Regions from separate parts of the Homo sapiens genome. Here region 1 is linked to region 2. Evidence: promoter capture Hi-C in 16 types of primary human blood cells and fetal thymus (Javierre and others, 2016). All regions are on one chromosome and are shown on one strand. The core of a region is centred on a gene start or on the middle of the fragment in contact, and the rest is flanking DNA. Distances in the headings are between cores, read along the strand shown.

Region 1 (4,363 bases), core at 990-3,489, 3.5 Mb after region 2:
ACCCATTTCAAATTAATCTTTGTAACAAGGTATGAGGTTTAAGGGAAAATTCAATACAATACAATACAAATTGGTCATTTGTAATTTTAAAATTACAAATGTTCCTACACTATGCATTGATACAGAGAAAAATCATCGTCAAAAACCATCCTTTCTGAATTGCTTTTGCACCTTCATCAAAGACCAAATGGGTGCCTTTATGTGGATCTATAACTGTATTCTCTATTCTGTTACACTGACCTATGTGTGTAGCTCTCTTTGCCAATACCACAATATCTTGATTTCTATAGGTTTATAGTTATATCTCAAAATCAAAGAGGATGATTCCTCTAACTTTAGGATGTCCTTGTTGTAAAAAGTTTATTTAAATAAGCTTTTAAGTCACCTACCTGAGTAGAATGTGCTTCACCTGAGGGAGAAGAGTAAGAAAGAGCCACTAAGTCGGCACTCCAGTGGAAATCACTAGGTGGCAGCTGAAGTTCTTTGCAAACGGATAACTGTAGAACAAACCCAAACAGAAAATCTTTCACATCAAATCCAGTATTTTGAAGATGCATCTGATTTCCCTTCTCTGCATATTTTAGATTCTGACTCACTGCTGGAAACACCATTCTACAAATATTCTTTCTTCTCACATCTCCTTTTAATCAGGCTTTCAGTAATTTTAAAACAAAGTATCTTAAGAGTATTGAATCATGAAAACTTAAAGGTAGACCAAACTCTGAAGAACAACTATCCTAACCTCTTCCTGGGCTAGAAAAGTCCAGTTAAGAGAAGACTAAGTAAGGTTAAGATGAGTGCTTAGGCTTCCTATGGAACTTTCCCAATTTACTCTTGATTTGTTCATCTGACATTTAAAATTAGCATGACCAAAGAGTAATTATACCAAGTTACCTAGGAAACAATTTCTTAGACTCTCAGCCAAATATCAGGATCCCGCAGCTAACTCAGTATGTCCCCCAGGAATTCACCCTCACCTATTACTCCTAACCACATACACCCTTTTCTAGGCAGCAGTAACACAGAGTTCAGCAGAAGTGAAGAATTGAGGTAAGCAGGAGCCCTGAGTTCCAACGGAACATGGCCAAGGAAGTAATGACTGGTAGAAGAGAGTAGTGTATCTAAGCTGTAACAAACAGAAAAAGGTTGCTGAGGATACGTTACTAGACATGCAAATGATAACCCACTGTTGGAAGTGGACAAGTGAAAAGTTTAACTAGCAACTGGTATCATATTTTCTTATTTTATTAAGCATCATTCAGTAGGTTCAACAAAACATAGTTCTGTCTTCTCAGAAATACGCAAACTCAAAGTTCATTTGCTTATGTGGATAGCATTTAGTCTGATACTTCATTAGGCAGACGGATTAGCATTATATTCATTGGAAATATCAATGACTCTAATTTTATTAAATGTAAACAACACAGATCTTCAAAAGGGGGAAACTTTTTTCCCAATACACAAATGTGTATGCATGCTCATTATTTCACATCACTATGAAAATGCAAACTCTTAATGCCTAAGTAGTTTCCTATTGACTATCCTCCAACTGTAAAAAAATTAGGGTAAAAATGAAAAGTCAATTGGCATTCCTCTCCTCTATCTTGTTCCAGCTCTCTAAAGAGCCATTACCTTAGTAATAGGTGACAGAGCAATCTTCCAAATAATGAGCTTCTCTTTGCACACCAGACAAGCCCATCCACCTTCATCTATGTTAATGGTCAGCTGGTCATCGACTAAAGGAAAAAATGAGGTGGGTGATTAATCTTATAGTATAAATCTTTATTACCACACGCTTTATCAAAAAAAAGTAATTGGCACACTCAGAAACGACTACCTCACAACAAATACTTTTGAATATTCCAAAATTATCAACACCAAAAACAATAGATCTATTAACTCTGATAACCAACTTTAGAAATATATCTAACGCCTGTAATCCCAGCACTTTGGGAGGCCGAGGTGGGAGGATCACGAGGTCAGGAGATCGAGACCATCCTGGCTAACATGGTGAAACTCCAACTCTACTAAAACTACAAAAAATTAGCTGAGTGTGGTGGCACGTGCCTGTAGTCCCAGCTACTTGGGAGGCTGAGGCAAGAGAATCGCTTGAACCTGGGAGGTGGAGGTTCCAGTGAGCCGAGATCGTGCCACTGCACTCCAGCATGGGCAACAGAGCCAGACTCCATCTCAAAAAAAAAAAAAAAAAAAAAAGAAAGAAAAAAGAAATATATCTAAAGGCAAAAAGTGTATTTGGGACATTTAATATTCCTTAATTTTTTGTTACAAACAGACCAGATAGCTTATTTCCTATAAGACATATTTAGGCCAGGCACAGTGGCTCATGCTTATAAATCCCAATATTTTGGGAGGCCACCCTGGGAGGACTGCTTGAGGCCAGCCTGGGCAACATAGTGAGACTCTCTCTCTTAAAAAAAAAAAAAAAAAATAGCCAGGCTTGGCAGTGCACTTCCCAGCTACTAGGGTGACTGAGGCACAGGAGAACCACTTGAGCCCAGGAGATTGAAGCTGCAGTAAACCATGATCACATCACTCCCACCTGGTCAAGAGAGCAAGACTCCATATCAAAAAATAAGTAAGCAGAAACAACAAAAGAGAGGCCAGGCAGGGTGGCTCACGCCTGTAATCCCAGCACTTTGGGAGGCCGAGGTGGGTGGATCATGAGGTCAGGAGTTCGAGACCAGCCTGGCCAACATGATGAAACCCCATCTCTACCAAAAATAGAAAAAAAAATTAGCCAGGCATGGGGGCATGGTGGCGTGCACCTGTAATCCTAGCTACTCGGGAGGCTGAGGCAGGAGAATTACTTGAACCTGGGAGGCAGAGGTTGCATTGAGCTGAGATCGCGCCACTGCACTCCAGCCTGGGCAACAGAGCAAGACTCTGTCTCAAAACAAACAAACAAAAAAGAAATATTTAGCAACATTTATAATTATATCGATAAAGTAAAACAAATAACAAACTCATTAACTATATAAAACATTTCAAGGAAAACAATGTGCTTTTGGAGGACCAAAAGCACATAATTTTCAAATAAGAGCTCCTTAAAGGAATGATAAATTATTTAGTACATGGAGACAAAGAGTTACGTTCTCTATTAAGTGACAAAACTAAATTAGCACATATCTTAAGTATTGGTGGTAAACCTCCACAAATGTGTTAACAGCCCTGGAAATTTTATTAAGTTGAGCTTTGCTCTTTACTTACAGAAAGGTAGAAGGGTGAAGTAAAAGGCATAGACAATGTACAAGCAAAAATATCAAACCAAGCCCAGGCTGAGTGAGGCTTTTTGCTCAACTGAACTATCTGCTCAGTAATTTTCTTTTTCTTGAAAGCACTACAACTCCAGATCCTCGACCGGTGTGCCTTTAAGGGCTGACTTAACAGTAGTTGGCAGGTTTCTAAGTGGGGAAGAGTTCTTCAAGTTGACACACCTCTTTGTTTTATATATCCTAATTTCTAAGGACTCTCTGAATTTCTAGATTTGGGGCTGTGTTATTTAATCTAGTCTGTTAAAATATGAGTAGTACATTAAAAGGTTTAAATGTAAACTGAAATTTTTAGAGGGGAAAAATATACACATATATACCAATATATATATATACATTTATTTATTTAAAACAGAACAATGTATAGAAAGGTTAGTAGTTGTCTGAAAACAACTATCCCTAAAGCTCCCAAGGACCTACAGGCAAGATGTGCCAAGTTCCAGTTGATGAGATATATTCCTTCTTCTAAAACAGAGTAATTTCAGCATTTTTTTTTTACTGTTATTAAGTTATACAGTAAATAGAGTTATTCACAGTATAATACATTTTACATCACGATACACCCATATACAATTTAAGTAAAACGAACAAAATTTACTAAACATATGAGATGCATTCTATTTCTTCTTTTTTTAAATGCTGGTCAAGAACCGCTAAATTTTGGTCACCCCTACAATTTGAAAAATACTGTTCCAGAAAAATCACAAAGATCTAGAATTCAAGCCTTAATAAAAATGACTTCAGCAGATATTAAGGCTGCTCTGAACTTTGCTCTTCCAGTGTCATCCAACTGCTCATCTTTAAAGTTGCCTTTCTAAGCTTGTGTTGATTGTATCTGTCAAAATTCCACACTAATTCTCCACCAACAGACGCTTCTAAAGGTACACCACGACAATGGTAACGTCATAAATTTGTGCACACAGCCTCTGGGATGCTACATAGGATCCAGAAATGGAGGTAGGACTTGATTTTACTGTATTATTAAACCCAATAACATGAGGTGCCAGTTTTGGGGTTTCACGGGAAACTTCATAAACCTGATCAACTCTGTAAACAGGACTGAATTTTGCATA
Region 2 (4,624 bases), core at 36-2,535:
GCGGAGGTTGCAGTGGGCCGAGATCACGCCATTGCACTCCAGCCCGGGCAACGGGAGTCAAACTCCGTCGGGGGTGGGGGAGGGGGAGAAAAGAACACTGTACTCATGAAATAAGAATTATTTTCAAAGGAATTAGAATGCAATTATTTTCATGGTCAAAAACAGTTGTGCTTACAGTTTTTAGACTGGATTACAGAGCAGGAAGGAAAACATGGAAAGTGAAAAACCGTATTATTTGCAAACACACATTGCTTCTTCACGGAATCGATCCAAGTCTCTTAAAATTTTGGTCTAGACTGCAGTGTTAACATTTGTTAAGCTTATAAATAGTAAGCAGAGGAAATAGCCGAGGAAAGCACGGATGAGGTGCGGAAAGAACAGAGTTCTAGATCAAGTGCCAACATTAAAATTAGATTCAGGGAAACCACTAAATTCTTTTGACAACTGAACAGGTTTAATATCTTATAGCTGGTAAAAGCTTACTTACTTGAAAGTTCAGTAAAAGCTCACGTGTAACTCTGGAAGTCCCTGGTAGGTTTTCACAAATATGCACGGACAAATGAGACCATCAAATTAATAGTGAACACTTCTACGTAACAGGCCCTAAGAACCCAGGCCCTCAACAGGACACACGTGTGAATGCTTGGTCACAACGACTGACCAGAAGAATCAATTTTCCTTCCCAATCATCCTTTGGCCTGGGTTTGGATATGACATACTTCTCTAGGCTGGGGCTAACAAGGCTGTGTGATGAGTGGACAAAATACACGTCACATAACCATAGTAAGAAGGTGAAGACTGGAGCCTTAAAAATCAGCCGGCCCAACTGCCAGAAGACCATTATATTTACGGATAAAGAAAGAGAAACAAAGTATTTGTAACTGTGAGCGGGACTAAGTGCCTGTAACAGTTTTTTTCTCCCTCTTGGTGGGAAGGCAAAACCACCACCACAAAAGAAAAGCAAAGGAAGGTCTCAGTAACAATTCGAAGCACCTTAACACTGAGGAACTCTCAGCCTCAACGAGTGAAAACCCCAGAGAATAAACGTACCCCCGCCCCGGACAGACCTACTCCGCACCCAGCGCTGCCACCTGTCTGCCTCTTTCTCCTTCCTAACAGGAACCGAAATCCTCACCTGATCTTGGCAGTGCCGGTGGATAAAATCCCGGACGGTGCACCGACCCGAGGCACACCGCACCGCCTTGCACCCGAAGCCAGGGCCGCGAATCCACACCAGCGCCGCGGCCTCCGCCATGTCACCGACTACCCGAACCTCAAGCCTCTCTGAGACACCAGGCGCCGCAACTCGCCCGGCGCCTCTTGATGACGCGAGCATCTTCCAACGCCCCGCCCCTCACGCTTCCGTTCACCCCTCCCCTCCCCTGGGGCGGGTCAAGTGAGCCGGGCGGCGGGGCGGTGCGGGCTGGGGGAGGGGAACAGGAAAGGCCTGGCGGAGGCAGATAAGGCGGCAGAGCACGGGGCGAGGCGTTGCTAGGAGAAGTTGCTAGGGCGGGGCTCGAGGGACCGGCTATAAAAGGCTGGCGCTGGGTTAGGTTTCGAGCTTCCTGGCCGTAAGCGATAAGGCTTTAACTGAGAACCACCTTGTGCTGTAGGCTTTGGCCCTTTTCCTCACATCTGTGTAGTTATTTTTGGGTCGCGGAGAATTGTGGCCCGAGAAGGCTCTGCTCCTTGAGAGTGTGGGGAGAGAAGCTGCAGTCCCGGAAGCGGTTTTAGGGGGCCGCTTCCTTGGCCTAGAGGAGCTCCCCAACCCGAGGGGGCAAGGGAAACGACCCCCAGGAGGCCCCTAAACAGTGGCCGGCGTGGTTTCTCCTCCAGCTTTACAGAGCCTTCTCTTCCCCTCCAGAAACAGCCAACCTCCGGGTTTCTGCCTGCCACGCACGGTTTATTCTTATTTCCGCCTGTTTGTGCACTGCGTTATCTCCACTTCAGCTCTGTTTTCAAAATATTTCACAGCAAGTGGGCTCTTGTGAAAGGCAGTGACAGGAGTGACGTTTATAGTCATGCTGCTTCAAAAAACCCTACCATAACTTTTATTCTGCACCATGGAAACACACTCGGACAGATTTGCATAACGTAACCTTAAGGCTCAGGGAATCCGAAAGAGTCCCTTAATATTTAACAGAATGAGATTATGGTATTTCTAAAACCCTGAACAATTCAAAAGCCACCAGTGTGAAGATAGGAAGGTTATTTGGAGATATCTGTGCCTGCTAAACACAAATGCATCGGCCCACAGAATTGCCTTCTCTGCTGTTAAAATGCTTGGCAAATGGAACTCCTAGCTGAGGGGGTAACAACAAAAAATTCAGAAATCGTTTAGCGGTGGCAGTATGTGCGAAAATGGAATTTCAAGGCCTGGGAAGTTAATAGATTCAGTGGTCTTTATTTCACACACGAGGGAAAGTTGGGGAGAGAAAGGGCCTCCATGGGGATGCCAGTAGATAAATAAAAATTACAAAAAAAAAAATAATAAAGATAGATTGTACTGGCCGGGCGCGGTGGCTCATGCCTGTAATCCAGCACTTTGGGAGACTGAGGCGGGCGGATCTCGAGGTCAGGAGTTCGAAACCAGCCTCACCAACATGGTGAAACCCCATCTCTACTAAAAATACAATAATTAGCCGGGCGTGGTGGTGCGCGTCTGTAATCCCAGCTATTCAGGAGGCTGAGGCAGGAGAATCGCTTGAACCCGGGAGGCAGAGGTTGCAGTGAGCTGAGATCGTGCCATCGCACTCCAGCCTGGGCGACAGAGAGAGTCTCCGTTTCAGAAAAAAAAGATATATTGTACCTAGGAAGCAGTATTTCGGAAAGGTGGTGCCATGGCAACCCTGGGGCGTGAAGGTGTCGCCAGGTTACATGTAAGCCGTCCAAACTCCAGAAACCTCAAGTCCCTCTGCAGTCTGCTCCCCAGCTCTCTGTCCTCCAGGTTCCTGAAAAAGTAATCTACAGATCTGAGCCTTAAGCCTCTTCTTTTTTTATTTGTGATTTCTTCCTTCTGGTGATCAAAAATGACTATTTCAAATAAATAAATAATTTTTTTAAATGACCATTTCAAAGGTCTGAGATCCTACAAGTAACTGTATAAAGGTCAGTTTGGGTTTCCAAAACATTTTTTGTGTCGGGATAATGCTTCGTGTCTTGTGAGGAATTATTATGATTAGTCTTTTTTTTCTTTCTTTCTTTCTTTTTTGAGACACTCGCTCTGCCACCTGGGCTGGAGTGTAGTGGCGCAATCATAGCACACGCAGCCTTGAACTCCTGGGCTCAAGTGATCTGCCACAGACTCCAGATGGATTACAGGTGCATGCCACCACACCTGGCTAATTTTTAAATTTTTTGTAAAGACGAGTTTTTCGCTAAGTTGCCCAGGCTGGTCTTGAACTCTTGGGCTCAAAAGATCCTCCCGCCTCAGCCTCCCAAAGTGCTGGGATTACAGGCGTGACCTGCCGTGCCTGGCATAAGTAGTACTTTCCAGTAAGGAAACTCCACATCATTTATTACTAACATTATATTTAGTCCTCATAAAACCTGATGTCTGAATGGAATTTTTCGCTTTTTATCCCTCTGTTGCATTTAAATTCCTATTATTTAAAGAATCCCAAGTATTGAATAGGTATTTGTCATTTAAAATATGAAATAACCATTGATATTAGCTTTTGAAAGACACAAATTTCCAAGTAATATATAATTTGTTGTTAAAACTTCAAAATGAGCGTGTAGTACCATGACATGTACAGAGTAGATATTAAGTAAATATTAGTTGGATACTTGATGGATTACTAAGGTAGAAGTTAATTATTCTCAATGTACATATGATGAAATATATTTTGCACTAATATAACAATCTATTGTAAGGATGCAGAATTTAACTTGGATTGCTATTAAATTCCTTTAAAGAATGAGGAAATTGAAGCATGTAAAGTTAGGGCTATGGCCAAGAACACAGTGCACATCAGTGAAAAAAAAAAAATCTAGAAAGACAGCTATTAGCTGGGTTACTATGGGTGTGTGGTAGCTTCCAGTTGACAGTGCTATGTGGCGGGGCTGATCAGTGATTATGGAAAAGAGCCAACTGCTGCTACCTTTCCCACCTCATGACGTCAGGGAAGGCACAGGAAGGCACGTGTGTGGTTGTGACAACTAAATGGTGAGTGGGAGGGGGGCCAGTTCCTCTATTGTCTACATAGTGTGGCCATGCTCCTCAGACTATATTTGGTGTGCTTTCCAGTAAACCACACTGGCTTTGTTCCTGCCTATGTTCTCCAGAAGAATGCTCTGGCCACACATTTGCCTTTTGAGGACTGGTTCTGCTGCCGTGAGAGGGACACTGGGAGGGCATCTTGAGGCAATGTGGAATAATTGTTCACTGCCAGGAAATGACAGCACCAGACAGACAATGTTTGTGTGGCAACCCATGACAGGGGCTCAATCGAGCCAAATGTCATGCTGGTCTGCAAGAACAGGAAGCAGAACTGTATGCTGGCAATTTCCATAAACAGCAGCCACGCTCCTAAACTAGTGAATCGATATCCATGTGTGACATGCAAGTCGCACTTCTGTGTTTTCAGCCATGTTTGTGCGCAGAGAGGAAAGGTGGTTGCTA

The links. The method cuts DNA at HindIII sites, captures the fragments that hold promoters and counts their contacts. A CHiCAGO score of 5 or more calls a contact.
Region 1: a fragment that was not itself captured here is called in contact with the fragment with the promoter of SDE2 in region 2 in 1 of 17 cell types (neutrophils); the score reaches 6.4 in neutrophils.

What each region holds. Positions count from the first base shown.
Region 1 is chr1:229,500,367-229,504,729 of GRCh38, forward strand. NUP133 (nucleoporin 133) reads right to left here. Exons shown (of 26, transcript NM_018230.3): 3 at 1,633-1,736; 4 at 390-497. Among named protein-coding and RNA genes, the nearest start is that of NUP133, 5.8 kb to the right of the region's middle. The HindIII fragment of the contact is 3,736 bases long and covers 372-4,107 here.
Region 2 is chr1:225,998,058-226,002,681 of GRCh38, forward strand. SDE2 (spliceosome associated SDE2) reads right to left here and starts at 1,286. Exons shown (of 7, transcript NM_152608.4): 1 at 1,136-1,286. The coding sequence starts at 1,255. RefSeq lists enhancers at 1,141-1,250, 1,771-1,920, 1,941-2,040, 2,121-2,170 and a silencer at 1,311-1,590. The HindIII fragment of the contact is 16,010 bases long and covers 477-4,624 here.